Linked DNA regions of Homo sapiens: region 2 is linked to region 1. Evidence: promoter capture Hi-C in 16 types of primary human blood cells and fetal thymus (Javierre and others, 2016). All regions are on one chromosome and are shown on one strand. Each heading gives the region's core, a stretch centred on a gene start or on the middle of the fragment in contact. The rest is flanking DNA. Distances are from core to core; before and after follow the strand shown.

Evidence for each region. The method cuts DNA at HindIII sites, captures the fragments that hold promoters and counts their contacts. A CHiCAGO score of 5 or more calls a contact.
Region 2: a fragment that was not itself captured here is called in contact with the fragment with the promoter of H1-4 in region 1 in 1 of 17 cell types (naive B cells); the score reaches 5.5 in naive B cells.

What each region holds. Positions count from the first base shown.
Region 1 is chr6:26,154,854-26,157,847 of GRCh38, reverse strand. It overlaps H1-4 (H1.4 linker histone, cluster member), which reads right to left and starts at 1,519. Exons shown (of 1, transcript NM_005321.3): 1 at 733-1,519. The coding sequence starts at 1,457. The coding sequence ends at 798. RefSeq lists enhancers at 1-286, 1,016-1,095, 1,356-1,515, 1,040-1,791 and a silencer at 676-725. The HindIII fragment of the contact is 19,818 bases long and covers 1-2,994 here.
Region 2 is chr6:27,111,952-27,114,945 of GRCh38, reverse strand. No RefSeq gene overlaps it. Among named protein-coding and RNA genes, the nearest start is that of TRS-GCT1-1, 16 kb to the right of the region's middle. The HindIII fragment of the contact is 1,876 bases long and covers 594-2,469 here.

The DNA of each region.
Region 1 (2,994 bases), core at 270-2,769:
TAACATTGTGGTGTCAGAACTTACACCGAAAGATACTTAACAGATTAGGAGAACTCACATTCCTTTCTTCCTTTAACAAAGTATGGGACTCGTTGCATACAGAAGCCGTGCTAATTGGGACATCCCCCCCCCCCAAGTCTGTCAGTTTTACGTTTCGGCAAGTCCTTAATCCATCCAAATGCCACATTTAAGGACCAAGTATTTTTCTGCAGTGTCGGTTTCTAATTTTCAGTTATGTGGCAGTAGTCTCCCCAAGCACTTGAAATGTAGCCCTTCGGAAATAATGTCAGTACTATGCCACTTGTCCTAAGACGTACTCCTCTGAAGTCCCTCACTGCCTGCCATACTCGATAGGGATAACCAGTAGGCTTGTAACCAGCACAGAAACTGATACACTGTGCCGTGTTTGGAACTCGGAAAAACCCAGCTTAGAAACCCGGGAAAATCCCAACATTTTTTTTCCCATGCTATCTGGAGGCCAGGGCCTGCTAAAAGTGCAAAGCACAAGGGAGGCCCAAATGGGTTCAACTCCGACACTCGAGAACGCAAAATCGAGATGACGCCACTGCACTCCGGCTTGGGCGACGCGACGCCTTAGTCAAAAATAGCTCCGGAGACACACAAAATCCCACTCCTCTCCCCGACTTTGTTCCCGGGAGACCCGCCCCTGCTTAGCAGCGTTTTCCCGAGCCACGCCCCCTAATAGTGCAACAGCTCTTTTACTGAGAGCGGTGGGTGGCTCTGAAAAGAGCCTTTGGGTTGTGTTGGGCTTCTAAGCAGTTGGCCAAAGGAACTTTCTACTTTTTCTTGGCTGCCGCCTTCTTTGGCTTGGCTGCCTTGGGCTTGGCGGTCTTTGGTTTAGCCGCCTTGGGTTTAACTGCTTTGGCCTTCGCTGGGCTCTTGGGCGCCTTTTTTGGCTTGGCTGCTTTCGCCTTTTTCGGGCTTTTCGCTTTTTTGGCTCCAGCAGCTGCAGCCGGCTTCTTCGCCTTCTTTGGGGTCTTCTTGGCGCTCTTCTTGGGGGTGGCCGCCCCCGTCGCCTTCTTGGGCTTCTTCGCCGCTCCTGCTGGCTTCTTGGCCTTGGCCGCGCCTGCCTTTTTAGCCTTAGGCTTGGCTTCCCCAGAGGCCGCCTTCTTGTTGAGTTTGAAGGAACCCGACGCGCCGGTGCCCTTGGTCTGCACCAGGGTGCCCTTGCTCACCAGGCTCTTGAGACCCAGCTTGATGCGGCTGTTGTTCTTCTCCACGTCATAGCCAGCGGCTGCCAGCGCTTTCTTGAGAGCGGCCAAAGATACGCCGCTGCGCTCCTTGGAGGCGGCAACAGCTTTAGTAATGAGCTCGGACACCGGGGGCCCAGACGCTTTGCGCTTGGCCGCACCTGCAGACTTGCGGGCCTTCTTCTTCACGGGAGTCTTCTCGGCAGGGGCCGGAGCAGCGGGCGCGGCAGGCGCAGTCTCGGACATGTTGAAGGCAAGCGTGAGCGAGAGCAATTCGAGCCGGAAGCAGAGGCACTGGCCGGGACTCGAGCCGCGGCGCTGCGCCCGCCCGTTTATATAGGGCGGAGCTGCGCCGTGATTGGTGCGCTGTCCAGCCCGCCTCGCTGGCAGCCGCAGAGTGTCCTCTCGGATCCCGAGTTGTGTTTGTTACACCTCAAAAAAAGCCAAAAATATAAAAATTGTCTACACCGAACTGCCCGGTTTTTCTCAGATAATGATCCCCGAACCCTCAGGCTTCACGCAGATCTCAAATTATAAGGGAAGCACAAAGCCTTGTGCCAAAAACTTGCAATATTTCCCGCCGTGCTTGGCAAATTTCAACTCAGAGAAACAAAACTTTCTATTTTCTTCGTAAATTATAAACCGATCTTTAACTGTGGACTTTTCTGACCTCTCAAATATGATACTCCAAGTGGTTAGCTTCTTATATATCCAAAAAGCATGCCACTGGCATTAAGATTTTTATTACAAATCTGCACTTAAGTGAGGGAAGTAACACAGGCTCCTCGGAGAGTCCTGCCTATTGAGCCGAGGGCATTTGAGTTCATCAAACTGGTTTAGTTTAATGCCAAACAAATTATTGCCCATTTGAGATTAAGTTTTGGACCCCTGGGACATCAATCTATACAGCCATGGTTTTACATCTGTCCGCTACATCTGAGTTTTTAAACAATTCTTTGGATAATTCTTTCCCTTTCTGCTCCCAAGGGTTGGGGGCGGGGCTGTTGCTTCTCTCTTCCTCTGGACAATTGCTCCATGGATTGAGATACCTTGAATTCAGGGTATTTGGGAACGAAGGGAAGTCCAAAATGTACTCAGGGTACAGAGATGAAAAAGGATTAATTTTCAAATGTGATGTTCATAAAGTCACTGGAAGTGGAGGTGCACTTTACTTTAAAGCATTTGTCTGCAGCCTTGCTGAGTGCTTTTGGCATATGCTTCAGAACCAAATTGCAATAAAGTAGCTTAGAGCTGAAATTCAAGCATTGATGATAAGGCAAAATAAATAAGAAACGTAGATTGAAACATCTACTCCCATTATTAGTGAAACCCAGCCCCTATTATTACTGAATAGTTGAGGAATGACTAGTCCACTCACCACGTATGGTTTCAATCCCCCTGAAGATTGTATTCCAATGCTTCCCAGAGCTCAATAGAAAGAAAAATAAGTGACATGTAGTGATTAAACGACAAGTTCAAATTTCGATCTCAGAAGTAGAGCTTTGAGAGTCTATCTAAGCTATTATAAATCATTGCCCTCTGAAAACATCCTTTGAACAATGTCTGAGTGAATTTCTTTAGGTAGTTGCCCAATCAAGAAGAGTGTATGTAAGCTGGCAATGAAAGCCCAACCAAAAGAATTATTTCTGGTCCGGGCGCGGTGGCTCACGCCTGTAATCCCAGCACTTTGGGAGGCCGAGACGGGCGGATCACGAGGTCAGGAGATCAAGACCATCCTGGCTAACACGGTGAAACCCTGTATCTACTAAAAGTACAAAAAATT
Region 2 (2,994 bases), core at 282-2,781, 960 kb before region 1:
GGCTTCTCTGCCTATGGGTTAGCCTTGCTTTGTGGAGCACCCGCTTTGCTGTACTATGCTGCTACTCTGGGATGCTCTATGGGTGAGCCTTGCTCTGTGGAGCACCTATTATGCTGCATGCTGCTACTCTGGGCTGCTCTGCCTGTGCGTTAGCTTGTGCTGTGTGGAGCGCCCACTTTGCTGCATGCTGCTACTTGGCTGCTCTGCCTGTGGGTTAGCTTGTGCTCTGTGGAGCACCCACTTTTCTGTATACTACTACTACAGGCTGTGCTGCCTGTGGGTTAGCACACAGGTCGCCCTTTGTTTATGGAGCAGTTTGCTGTACACTATTGGTCTAGGAAGTGTTTTTAAATTAACTCTGAAGCCAAAAGCCCTCCAGGGTTAAGTCCCAATTTTGGGGTTCACCTGTGTCAGCCTGGTGACCCTGAAGGAAGGAACCATCAAAATGAAGAGACCATGAAGGGAGCATCAAGATGAGCGGGTTGACCATCAAGATAAAGTTTGGAGTTGTGATACTGTAATGCTATATACTAGCCAAAGGCTCTTTTCAGAGCCATGTTTTCTTGGTGACTAACTGGTTGTACACTGAAGCTTTGGAAACCTTTGCCTGGACCCAAATTAATGGCCAATTGGCACCATGTGGTTTCTGTGATTTCCCTGTCATATTGACCTTTCTGGGTAAACCAGGAAATGAAAGTGGGGCCTCCAGCTAGTCCCATGTTCAGATTATGTCCCCATTGCCCCGTTTTTGACCATCGTCTATTAAATCTCTAATGACTGGCTACTTGATATTACCATTCAGTTCCTAAATGCATGGTTGTATGTCAGAGCCATGTTCCTTCTAGGATTGGGTTAGAGTCCCACTCTAGGGGGAATTTATTGGGTTATTGTCAGTCCCACTCTACGTGGCGTTAGAATTGAGAGTCCTGCCCTAGGGGCTTTGTTTTTTGGTCACCTTTCTAAGATTGGGGTTTAAATTTCCACTAAGGGTTCTTAATTTGGTCAGCGTTTTTTTACTTCCATACTTAAAGTGCCTTCTTTGTAACATTCCATTAGCTAGTGATGGTAGTTGCCAGCCCACTGCCCACTCATCTTTCACTTTTGTGGCACCTACTTCTTGATACCCATGTTCTTTTGGCAGGAGTCAGTGGTAATTTCCCTACTGCTCTTGAAGAAAAGGGAGGTGGAAATTTGAAAGGAAAAGTAACTGGACTCTCTGGACTTGGAAGAATTTCTGGGTTTAGTAGGTATCTCTGGTAGACATAACAACAGTGAGCGTCCTGAAACACTTCCTGCTAGGGTGCCTTTTAGGCAACTAAAGCAAATTCAAATTTGATGTCTTAAAAACTCATCTTCTATTATAACAGTGTTTAGTACAAATTAATTTCCCAAGAAATTTGGCCTAAAAATGGTTCACTCTCCCTGGAGCCTCCTTGGTGCCTTAATATGAGGAAGGGGGTCCTGCCAGTTCTCCACTACAGGATTCCATCCCAAGTTCATCAGGCACCCCTCTGCTTTAACCAACTAGCTCCAGCCTATATGCCATACTGCCTGAGGAAATAAGTCCAACCAGTCTAATCAGGAGTGATAAAGTCCTATCAGCCCTTAAAATCAAACTTACATCTATTGTGAGAGGTTGAGACGTTGCTAATGGCGGGAACAGTACTTGTGCCTTTTTCCATGTCTGATTTAGCTTCATGCAAGGGAAACATTGGCTGGTATCAGAGGATCCAGGGAAGTTTATAGTTTGATGTAACTTGGCATGACTTGCAAATAGTGTCCACCTGCTGTGCTGTAGAGGAGAAACAAGGGATTTTTGAATACTGCCTGGGCATATGCTGATGGAATGGCTGCTTGTAACCAGGATCATGCCATTTATTGTATGTGGGAGTGTACTTCCAGATTTGGACCCCCATGGGATTACCAGAGGGGTTCCTGAGATCTCAAATGTAGAAATCATAGGTAACTTGTTTAATAGAAGATATGAAAGTGTGCTTAATCCAGTTAATTATGACAAGGTTAGAGAAGTAACTGTAGGGGAGGATAAAAATCCTATTCTAGTCAGGGCTGTTTGGTTGAGGCACTCAGGAAATATTGCAGGACAGACTCCCCAGAAAGGCAAACTCTTTTATCACTCAGTCTGTCCTTGATGTTAGGAGGAAGCTATAACAGGCAGAAAGGGGAAACGCAAACTCCTATAAGCCAATTTTTAAATATGGCCTTTCCAGTTTACAACAATAGGCACAGGTCAAAACAGGCAGAGATAACCAAAAGAAATAATATCCAAAATGCAATTGTTAGTGACTACTTTAAGCACCCTCTCCCACCTCAGGGTTAGCCAGCCTGAGGAGATTTGAGATCAGCATCTCAGATGCCCAGATGAGAGCCCCGAACTTGCTGGCCCCAGGGCCAATATCACTGTGCCTTCTGTAAGCAAGAGGGCCATTGAAAAAGGGACTGTTCCAAGCTTCAAAGGGAGCCTAGGCTACCCAAACCCATAATGGCCAAGAAAACAAGACTGACCGGGCCCAAGGTCCCCCACAGCTCCCACTGGACACCTTACCATCTCCATGGAAGAGGCTTAGGTAACTTTTGAAGTGGCAAATAAAAATATTTAGTTAAAATGTGTTCTTATTGAGATAATAATTTTGTCAAATTCAGAAACTATATAAAGGTTGATTCAAATTATGGATTAGAAAAGGCTATGAAATAAGGAATCTATAAGTAGGAGAGAGATGTGAAGAAAGTTATGGATGTGGAGATGTATTTTTGGTAAGGAAGGTCATAAAGAATGATTGTATAAAGGAAGGTTATAAAGAAAAGAGCATAACTGTATATGAAAAAGGATCTTCAATTTTAAAAAATCAATATGAGAGGACTATTGCAGTATGAAAAGAAAATCTTATATGGTAAACTCTTGTTCTAGAGTCAAATTACTAGGTATTTAAGGAAGAGGTAGTATAGGACAAGTCAGAAAGTCCAAGCATATCACAG